Regions from separate parts of the Homo sapiens genome. Here region 1 is linked to region 2. The links are contacts of gene promoters, found by promoter capture Hi-C in blood cells and fetal thymus (Javierre and others, 2016). All regions are on one chromosome and are shown on one strand. Each heading gives the region's core, a stretch centred on a gene start or on the middle of the fragment in contact. The rest is flanking DNA. Distances are from core to core; before and after follow the strand shown. Region 1 has its middle 550 kb from the start of LINC02510. Region 2 holds the start of PCDH10 (protocadherin 10).

What was found. The method cuts DNA at HindIII sites, captures the fragments that hold promoters and counts their contacts. A CHiCAGO score of 5 or more calls a contact.
Region 1: a fragment that was not itself captured here is called in contact with the fragment with the promoter of PCDH10 in region 2 in 3 of 17 cell types (M2 macrophages, M1 macrophages and fetal thymus); the score reaches 14.1 in M2 macrophages.

The regions. Positions count from the first base shown.
Region 1 is chr4:136,639,342-136,645,224 of GRCh38, forward strand. No RefSeq gene overlaps it. Among named protein-coding and RNA genes, the nearest start is that of LINC02510, 550 kb to the right of the region's middle. The HindIII fragment of the contact is 585 bases long and covers 1,903-2,487 here.
Region 2 is chr4:133,145,835-133,151,223 of GRCh38, forward strand. PCDH10 (protocadherin 10) reads left to right here and starts at 3,460. Exons shown (of 5, transcript NM_032961.3): 1 at 3,460-5,389. The coding sequence starts at 4,307. PCDH10-DT (PCDH10 divergent transcript) reads right to left here and starts at 3,282. Exons shown (of 9, transcript NR_125885.1): 1 at 3,195-3,282; 2 at 1,365-1,442. RefSeq lists an enhancer at 3,204-3,263 and a silencer at 3,374-3,513. The HindIII fragment of the contact is 9,721 bases long and covers 1-5,389 here.

The sequences.
Region 1 (5,883 bases), core at 945-3,444, 3.5 Mb after region 2:
GAAAGAGGAAGTACAGGAAAGAGGCAAAAGCTTTAATTGTCACTATGCAAGCCTGCAAACCCCAGAGTTCCCAGAGTGCACAAAGATATGGCAAGAACAGTTATCACTCTTCTAAAAGTTGATCTGCTCCCATACAAGGTTTAATTTATTTCACTAGGATGAAACAGCTCAGGGTACAATGTTGTCGTCAGTATATTTTACTTCCGGTCTCTGAAATCTTTGACACTGAATTCTTTCCTTGTATAATACACAGGTTTAACCCATGCATACTTAACCTTAAAAACCTCGTTTTTTTCTCTTGCGCATAGAAGCCATCAAACTCCAAATGGTCAGGCAACCAGAGCCTCAGGCGTTGGCTCCTTTTTGCTAGGAACCCTTAGATAGACCTCTGGGGGAATCTAACTGCTGTTTTCCCAAAAAAAAATGCTCCCTGTCAGCAGGAAGCAGCTAAGACCAGTCATCATCCATATTCTAATGGCAGTTAGATGTACGTCTTCAGAGGGGGGAAATGATACAGAAAGGAAGTGCTGGGAAGGGCATAGTCACTTTAAATGATACGGAAGCAGGAAGGGAAGTGCTGGGTAGAGGAGGCTGTGGTCCCTGGCTAGGGCTCCACCCCCAGGCGTGTGCCCACTGACCTAAGTGAGGACAGGCATTTTTGTTTTCCTGCCCAAATGTTGCATTTCCCAAGGCCACACCCCAATCCTGTGCCTATAAAATACCTCAAGACCATAGCAGGCAGACACAGGCGGCTGAACTTCCAGAGCTCGTCAGCGGAGGAACACACAGACGGCTGGATGTTGAGAGCAGCACACCTACAGGCACCAGCACAGGGCAGGCCACCGACCAGCAAAACACTGTGGAGTCTGGCTGGGGCAGTCGGAGGAAAGCCTGGGCCACTAAGCAGCCTGACTCCTGGGGAAAACCTTCCCACTCCATCCCCCTTTTGGTTTCCCCCAATCTGCTGAGCGCTACCTCCACTCAATAAAACCTTGCACTCATTCTCCAAGCCCAGGTGTTATCCCATTCTTCCAGGACACCAAGGCAAGACCCTGGGATACAGAAAGCCCCCTGTCCTTGTTACAAGGTAGACGGTCTAATTGAGCTGGTTAACATAAACCGCCTATGGTTGGCTAAACTAAAAAGCACCCTGTAACACAGGCCCACTGGGGCTTCAGCTGTAAACATTCACCCCTAGACACTGCCATGGGGTCGGAGCCCCACAGCCTGCCCATCTGTATGCTCCCCTAGAGGTTTGAGCAGCAGGGCACTGAAGAAGTGAGTTATACCCCCATTGCACACCCTGTGAGAAAGACAAGGAAGCTTTTCCGGTTTCAACAGTGCTGGTAGGAGTGTAGCAGTGAGAACAACCAGAGGTCACTCTCGTGGCCATCTTGCTTTTGTTGGGTTTTGGCTGGCTTCTTTACTGCAACCTGTTTTATCAACAAGGTCTTTATGACCTGTATCTTGTGCTGACCTCCTATCTCAGCCTGTGACTTAGAATGCCTTAACCATCTAGGAATGCAGCCTAGTAGGTTTCAGCCTCATTTTACCCAGCTCCTATTCAAGATGGAGTTGTTCTAGTTCACATGCCTCTGACACTATGACTCAAACAAGGCATTATTTCTAAATGCCCGCTTCCTTTGCTCAATACAACAAAAATATTGGATGCAGAGTATGTGCCTTAACACTCTGTTTGGTCCTTGTAATATAATAATACACAACAAATAATTCTGGCTTCTAGAAACTCATAATCCAAAGCACAAGTATTAATTTTAGAAGTTATTGTGTATTAGTCTGTCAGTAGTTTCAAGATTTACAACAGTACGGAGAAAATTCAGGTAAAACTTTATACCAGAAGAGGTGCTAAGTTAATGTTTCTTCTATTAAAGTAGATATATAAGCTTCTGACTTAGTTTTTTAAACATAAATATTGGCATCTTCCTCAATGTGATTTAAAGTTATGCTCAAGGGGAATTTGCCTCATCTCCTATCTTGTACGCCTCATGCTCAGGTAGAGTATTGTGAGTGAGAAATCATTCATTGAGAATGTGAGTTTGTAGAATAAAAACCCATGAGATACTAGTGTGCTTTGCAACATTTGAAAATGAATTCCAAACCTTTTGAATACACAAGATGCAAAATAAACCCTTTAATGATTCATGCTTTACATTTTAAAGAATCTCTCATGGTTTTCAAAGCAATCAGACACATACAGAATCTCAAAAGTAGTTTTGCATTTTTTAGATCATAAAAAGAATGTAGGCAGTTGGAAATGAATAGTACATAAAGCCTGAAAGATGATAATAATGAAAGCTATTAATATGCAGATTCAATTCAAAATGACAATTTATTTTTTAACCAAATGAGAGCCCTTTTGCTTCTCAAATGTTAATTGCTCTTATTTTGGTGCCCAGTTCACTTTATGGAAATATATAAGCTACAGGGAACAGTACTATATCCACAGATAATACTTGGAGATACAAAAGCTTAATATGTTGTACTACCATCAATACAAACTTACATTAATATTATCTATATTATAAAGTAAAAATTAATCATATATATCACAGTTGCCCATTTTTAAGTAAAATTTAACAAATACTTATGTTTTCTAAGAGTAACAGAATAGTATTTAAACATACTAAAAATAAAATCGTATTTCCTGGATCATTTATTTTAACTGGTATATTCTAAGCTGTATTTTAATAAATCTTAAGTTCAGGATATCATTGATTAAGCACCGGAAATATCACAGACTGGATAATTTATAAAGAAAAGAAGTTGATTTGGTTCACAATTCTGGAGCTGAGAAGTCCAAGTACGTGGCACTAGCATCTGGCAAGAGCCTTCATGCTGTGCTATTCCACGGCAAAGGGTGAAAGGACAAAAGAAAGAGAGAGCGAAAGAGCATGAGAGGGCCACACTCACTTTTGTAACAACCCACTGTCTCGACAATAAACCCATTCCCTCAATGACATGATTAATCTATTTAGAAGAGAGGAGTCCTTGTTGCCTAATCACCTGTTTATGTTCCCACTTTTTAAAAGTATCAAAATGAAAAGTAAGTTTTAACATGAATTTTGGAGGGAATATTCAAACCATAGCAAGCATCTTACCAGACTATTGTCTAATCAAATAATAAAGCTAATTTTGTTCTTTTTTATCTCTCCATTTTGTACTCATTGAAGACAGACACGTTTAAAAAATTAGTGAAATGAGAGGAAAATACTATGTGACAGCATCAATTACTGAGAAATCTGGTGTAATTTTCTGGTTCGCAAGGAATAAGAATTCAGAGAATGTTCACTCTATCCAAAATCTTTATATTTGTGGAAATGCTATTCATGAGAACCAAGAGCTACCTGATAAAGGAAATGTAAATCATATGCATTAGTCATTCTCTAGTGAAACCGGACCTGTTAGGCCCTATTATTGCAGATAGTGTTGCTTTTCTTGTCTGCCCCAAACTCTGGGCGCCAAGATTTTGATTTCTTAAATTGATTAGTTCCTCTAGATTTAAATATTTATCTAAGAAGCTGCAGTTAACTCATATTTTTAACATGACAATTAGATTAGTCCTAAAGGAGATAATTTGATTTACATATGTCTATATTTTCATATGTATAAATGTGGAAATGATAGATACGTAAACAGGCATACATTATGCATATAACCAACACACACGGTATAAAGTTTATATATATATATATGCATATATATCTTTTCAATCTGAAAATAATATATAGGCAAAATTACAATGTAGTTGTAAGTTTTAGCGCCAAATGTTTCTCATTCGATTACTGACAAATCTCTCACACAAGAACAGCCAGGATCATATATTCTTTTTGTTATGGGCTGAGTTTTTCTACTGTCTTAAGACTTCTTCTACATCATCTGCTTTTAGATTTCTGTTTACATTGCAAGCTTATTTCCTACTTAAGTCTTCACCAGCCTTCCATGTTCTTTTGGTAAATGTGTGGTTTGTTGAACACCTTTCTCTGTGAATGAGCCAGACACAATGCATGGATGAGCATCTGGCAGTTAGGTTTGTACTACACTCTTCCTAATCTAATTGAATGGGTACTTGACTGAAGTAGGGCTGATCATATCCTCTCTTCTAATAATTTGTAATTAGGACAGAGAAAGGACCAGCCTCTCTGCGTGATGAAATTCTGAAATGATAGACAGCTATTATTTCGTGATAGAGAAAAAGGAAAAGTTGTCTGTGAAAATAGGAAGGTAATAATGAGTCAGATGCCCTGAAGCTCTAGTGGCTCTTGAGATGAGGCTCCCCTTGTCTTGCTCTTGGCTTCATGAATCACTTGTGAATCCTCTTTATAAGTGACTAGATGTATTTTTCTACCTCACCTGAGTGAGGTTTTTACACTTTAAACTTAAAGCATCTTACTGATATAGTCAAAGAACTCTAGTATTGCATTCTCACATTTTCTATTTGAAACTGTTCAAATTGTATCCTTTAAAGTATGCATTTCTAGAGCTTTAGCTATTTCAGCTTCAGAGTGATGCCTCTCTGCAGATTCATGATATTTTAGAAAATAAATTTTTCTGAAAAGGTGTCTGTTAAAATACGCCTGTTTTTATGTATTATTCCTATGGGATGGATTGTGTAGATTTTCTTGACTTTTAGAAATGTCTTCTTGGCTGAGTACTACCTGTAAGAGTGGCATTTCTGTAATAAAAAGACATTTACACTCTGCCTACTTTGTTGCAATCATTAACAAATTTTATTCCTTTAAGCAATTCCTATATATATTAAAAACTATGCATTTATCATCTGTTGAAGTTTAAAAATTTGGTTTTCCAGAATAACATATTGACTCGACATTTACCAACAGAATTTTTTAAACTATATGCGTTTACACTTCCACATTAATATTCTAGTAAGTCCCTCAAAATAACAATATCCTAAAGAGTAGCAGAATATGCCACCCCAAAATATGACACCATAATATAAGAATTTTTTTGAGCTAAAGATACTTGAAAAACACCAGGTACAAGAAAGGGACTCCAACCTCCCCCTTTTCTTCCTGAAAACAGTAAATAAATCCCTCTAAGGAAGATGTCCTTTGTATGCCAGGAGGGAAGTAACATTCTTATCACCAGGGATGGCTAGTTGAGACTGAGATAAGTCTGTACAAACAAACCTTGTTAACTCACTTTTATCTTCTTAGTCACTTCTCCATGATTAATTACCCTGCCCAAGCCCCCTTGCCTTGTCATGTTTTCACAGTGTATAACTGTTTGTCCAATTCAGTATATAAATGTTTGATTCTAACTGCTATTTGGGATCTTCCACTTCAATATGAAGCTTTTGTGTCATGTAAAATTTTTATTAAATAAATGTGTATACTTTTCTCCATACTTTTCTCCTGTTAATCTGCCTTTTGTCAATTTAATTCTTAGACCTAGTCCGAAATTCTAAGAGTGTAGAGGTCAGATTTTGCCTCTCCTAGCCCCATAACCAAAATCCTTATTTTACCACTAAATTGAATTTAACTTAAAATACCCCATCACAATAAATCTCAAGTCTTTTCTTTCCATCATTCAATCCAGAAAACTGGAATTCTTCATTGACTTCTCACTTTTTTATACCATATATATATAATCTGTGATCATATATAGAAAGCTATTTTCAGAATCTGAACTGTTCTTCCTATCTTCACTGCCAGCCCCTGGTCCAAATCACCATCACTTGCAAAGAATTTCTTTTTGAAATAACTTCCTAACTGCATGGTCTTCCTGCTTTTGTTTTTGCACTCCTTTGATCAGTTGTTCCCCAGTAGCCAGAGTGTCCTGATAAAACACGGTCAGAGCATAGTCTTCCCCTGCTTAAAATCCTCTAGGAGCTTCCAATCTCAA
Region 2 (5,389 bases), core at 2,210-4,709:
GTTAAATCACTGCAAACACTCATTTATCCAAAGGCTGGTTAACAAACTTGTTTCTGCCCCACCCTTTGCAGCAAAGGGCAGAGAAGAAAGCAATCCCTTAACCCAGTTTCAAAGTTTGTAAAACACACTTGTGGGATCCTTAGCGCCCCCCTGTTTCTGCTGCACTTAAAGCCCAATGAAATAAAAAATGTGCACTATCACTCTAATATATAAACCAGGACTTTTATGAAAACTGATTTTGATAACCTCCCTCCAAATAATAAAACTATTCCTCTGTTTCTTAGGGTGCAGTTTGTCCTGGCTCAAACAGTTTGCGCTCCTAGGGGGTGGACGGGGGAGGGTGAAGAAGGGATTACGTACAAAATATTTCCTTCTCCTTTTCCGCTCCAGTAACGGGGGGATTGAGGAACACAGAATATACATGATGCTCTACACTTCAAAGAGGTAGTCAGCCTCATTACTGAGGCTGCCGTATATACAAACCTCATCTCACTAAATTCTGGGGTCCACGGGAGTAAGAATGAAAAAGAAAAACGAAAGGCAGGGATCTGTTTGATTGACACAGCAAGGGAAAAAGTAAACCTGTTACATTTTAGAGGCATTTTAAAAGGCAAATTTAAAGTGTTGTTTTGTTTTGTGGGTGACGGGGCATGGTTGTTTTAAAGGCTCTAGGGTAAAGGGGCATAGAAGGCTATTAATGCCACTATCTGATCTTGGCTCCAAACAAAATGCTCTTGGAATTGCCCTTGGCTGGAGCTATCTAGCGGGAGGCGGAGGACCAGGCTCTGTTCTGTTCGGCCGGGAAGAAGACCCTACCGTCACTCCGCCGGTCCCTGGCTGGCGCCACAAAGACTAGAAGTCGGAGAGGCGAGACCTCTAGGGGGCCTGGGCTCAGCGACGCTGGTGCGGACACAGACCCCTATGACCCAAGAAATCTTGTAGAGCCCCCAAAAGGCGAGCTCTCCAAAGCAAAATTCTCTGGCCTGCCCTATGCTGATTTCGCCGCTAGGAGACGCCTGTAACCCACGTTTGCGGAGAGAGTTCCATTCAAACACATCTGCTACCAAAAATAAAAATAAAAAATAAAAAAAAATAAAAGCAGCTCAAGTGTTACAGTGGATGTAGTGATTATTTACAGGCAAATCTGGCCATCTCATCTCCACCTCTGGAAGCTCTCTGGCTTTCAGCATATGCCCCAAGTCAGCTCAAACTTCATCTACATTTCAGGGGTAGAAACCCTCTTCCCCAGTTTCTGGATCTGCATTGTCATTCAGCTGCATGTCTCCCACATGCAAACACGCGCGCACTCGCGCGCACACACACAAGTGTTTCCATACGTACAAATGAACGCATTAGAAAATTACCGTCATTTTTTAAAAGGCTCCAGGATTCTGACGAGTCAGCTTGAAGAGCTCAAAACATTTCATTTCAATTCTGCAGATCTGAAGAAAAAGAAAGGGGGGAGGGGTGGAAGTACAGATGCAATACCGTATTAATATTCAGATACACTATAATCTCCTTTTCATTGATCCACAGGTCCCTTTATACACTGCCGCTCCATTCTCAGCCGCAGACGTGATGCTAAAATCATTTTAACTGCAGCGGTTTTCGCTTGGCTTTGGCCAGTCTTCAATTTACTGCAGCTGGAAAAGGATTAGCCATTTTTGCTGGAATCCTTTCCTTCTAAGCGCTCAAAGGCAGGACCCATCTTCATGAAAGAGCCAAGTGCGGGGGCCGGGGGGACCCGGCGTTGCGGGGAGTTGGGGCGCGGAAATCAGGGCAGTAGACGTGCATTCGCGGGACTCTCAGAAGCACGTCTCAGGCTACTATCACGCCCATGGACACTAGCCCTCCTTAACTCCTTGCCAGGAGGAAATGGCAACGTATCTCCAGGTCGGAAAACGACTCTACTTTTCCCGCAGGTTGTGGTGGTGTATTCTTGGGTCATTCATTACCAGAAAGCAGCAAAGGACCTTCCTATCTCTTTGCATAAAAAGGAGATTGAATAGGGGCTTCTTTCGTGAATAAACAACCAATTCCTTGCTAGTGGCCCATTAATTAAAAATATATATTTATAGATCTTTCCTTAGAGAACTGGCATTCTATCCACTCTCCAGCATTAAAGAGTTCGCGCTGTGTTTTAACTTCACAAGAACTAGCTATGTGGATGTGCCGCGTTGCCCCTGCGCCTCCGGAAGGGGCACTCACAGCTGGTCAAGCGCGTCCTTCGGAACTCGGGGAGGCTCCGTTGGGGCTTACACAGAGCTAAGCCCTGGGCCAGGGAGGATGGATGCAAGTACCGTGCATGTGCAAACGTGTTCGCAGATACCCGCAGCGGTGCACACTCGGGCCCCTCGTGTGCACGGGCCCTGCCCACCACCCCGCCCGCGTTCGCCGCCGCCCCACTGTCCTCATCCCGCGGGCTGACCCCAGGATTGGCAGAAATCAGTGGTCTAATCTAGCATGGTGGGTAAAGGGATCGATCTCCAATTGCCAAAAAAAAAATAGAAAATAGCCGGTGTTCCCAGCCGCTGCGTGGCACTTGGCCGCACAAGGCGCAGGGATATCAGAGGCGCTTTGCAGCGCTTGGCGGTGCTGTGTGCCGGATGCCCCAGAGCCCGGCGTTAGGATGGCGGGCTTGTAGGAAGCGGCTCAAATCAACTCCTCAGTCACTGATGAACGCGCTCACGGCTCGAAGCTAGGTCCTCGAGTGAGTTAATCTACTTGGTAAGTATTTTGTGAATATGTATTTTGGGAGGAAAGAAGCACGTCGAACGCGTCTGCCCGTCTGTAAGCGCTGTCATCCCCACATCCTTTAGCGTGAATTCCTCCGCTTTTTAGGAGTCACCTCCACCCCCTACTCCGTATGCTTCGCGCCTTTCCTCACGGCCCCGTCAGACCCCCTCACCTTTAGATTGACACATGCCATATAATACTCACTTTTAAAATGCCCTGCCAGTCTCTGCTAGGGTCCCTTAATTAGGTAACCCTTGCCAATTAGTGGGCCCTGCGCTACTTTTTCCCTTCTCGATGATTTATTTCCATGATGCGTATTAGGGAAAATACCTTAAAGGAAAAAGAATGTTAGCATCATTGGAAATCCCGCTCCTAGGAGAGGATATCGCAGCTGTTGCTATTATGTTTTCGCATTTGCTGATGCAAACAGGGGAACCTCTCTATTCCCTCCCCATTACCTGCGGCTGGGGACTGGGAACTTTCCGCGGCATTGTCCCCAGCCAGCGCCTCGGGACCTGCGGGGCTGTTCTCGCTCTCACACTCACACTCACCCCGGCCGCTCGGGCGAGAGTTCTGTCCCGCCCCGCCCGGCTGCCGCGTGACGTGTCTGTTTGGCGGCCAGTTTGGCCAATCATCGGCAGCTCGGTGGGTGGTGCTCCTGGGCGATTGGTTGGCAGAATGAGGGCGCTGCGCAAAAACGGAGAAGCCGAGCGCTCGGAGCTCAGAAACTGCCAGCCCAGACCACAGGCTCAGAGGCTGAAGCAGGAGGAAGGAAGGACTGGAAGGAAAAAGAGACAGGTTAGAGGGAAAGAGGCTTGGGAAGAAAACAGCAGAAAAGAAACTGCTCATTACACTTACAGAGAGGCAAGTAACGGTGGAGATGAGGACAGAGGGAACCAAGACTCTGAAAGACAAAAAATACAAATAGAGCGAAAGAGGAAAAAAATGTCAAGAAGAACATCCATCCGGAGAAATGAAGAGAATGAAAGTTTTAAGCTGCAGAGCCGTTCTGTGCTTTTCCGGCACAAAATTATATCGCTGATTTTAAGCCCTTTTGCATTTGCCAGCCGTTGACATTAAGAGGCATGTTTAACGGTGCCAACAGCATCTCCTTTTCCTTCTCCTCTTCCTCTTCTTCTTCTTCCTCCTCCTCCTCCTCTTTTTCCTCCTCCTCGTTCTCCTCCCATCAGCAAGAAGACAAACCGAGGACAGTCTTGAAATATCGAAATTTCCTCTTTGGGATTTGCCAGCGCCAAGACTGTCGGAATAAAGGACGCTGACTATTGTATTATTGTTATTTTATTAATTAGTCAGTGGAAAGATTACAGATGAGGAAAGGGGACGCCTGTCACCCTTCCTGTGCTAAGATTTAAAAAAAAATGAGGCTGGATTGCGGGAAGCTCTAAAATGAAGCAAAAGGAGTAAGATTTTTAAAGACAGAAAGCCACAGGAGCCCCCACGTAGCGCACTTTTATTTGTATTTTTTCAGATTTTTTTTTGTTTCGTGGTGGTGGGGGAGGTGATTGGGTGGCTGACTGGCTGCGGGAAGCTACTTCCTTTCCTTTTGGAGATGATTGTGCTATTATTGTTTGCCTTGCTCTGGATGGTGGAAGGAGTCTTTTCCCAGCTTCACTACACGGTACAGGAGGAGCAGGAACATGGCACTTTCGTGGGGAATATCGCTGAAGATCTGGGTCTGGACATTACAAAACTTTCGGCTCGCGGGTTTCAGACGGTGCCCAACTCAAGGACCCCTTACTTAGACCTCAACCTGGAGACAGGGGTGCTGTACGTGAACGAGAAAATAGACCGCGAACAAATCTGCAAACAGAGCCCCTCCTGTGTCCTGCACCTGGAGGTCTTTCTGGAGAACCCCCTGGAGCTGTTCCAGGTGGAGATCGAGGTGCTGGACATTAATGACAACCCCCCCTCTTTCCCGGAGCCAGACCTGACGGTGGAAATCTCTGAGAGCGCCACGCCAGGCACTCGCTTCCCCTTGGAGAGCGCATTCGACCCAGACGTGGGCACCAACTCCTTGCGCGACTACGAGATCACCCCCAACAGCTACTTCTCCCTGGACGTGCAGACCCAGGGGGATGGCAACCGATTCGCTGAGCTGGTGCTGGAGAAGCCACTGGACCGAGAGCAGCAAGCGGTGCACCGCTACGTGCTGACCGCGGTGGACGGAGGAGGTGGGGGAGGAGTAGGAGAAGGAGGGGGAGGTGGCGGGGGAGCAGGCCTGCCCCCCCAGCAGCAGCGCACCGGCACGGCCCTACTCACCATCCGAGTGCTGGACTCCAATGACAATGTGCCCGCTTTCGACCAACCCGTCTACACTGTGTCCCTACCAGAGAACTCTCCCCCAGGCACTCTCGTGATCCAGCTCAACGCCACCGACCCGGACGAGGGCCAGAACGGTGAGGTCGTGTACTCCTTCAGCAGCCACATTTCGCCCCGGGCGCGGGAGCTTTTCGGACTCTCGCCGCGCACTGGCAGACTGGAGGTAAGCGGCGAGTTGGACTATGAAGAGAGCCCAGTGTACCAAGTGTACGTGCAAGCCAAGGACCTGGGCCCCAACGCCGTGCCTGCGCACTGCAAGGTGCTAGTGCGAGTACTGGATGCTAATGACAACGCGCCAGAGATCAGCTTCAGC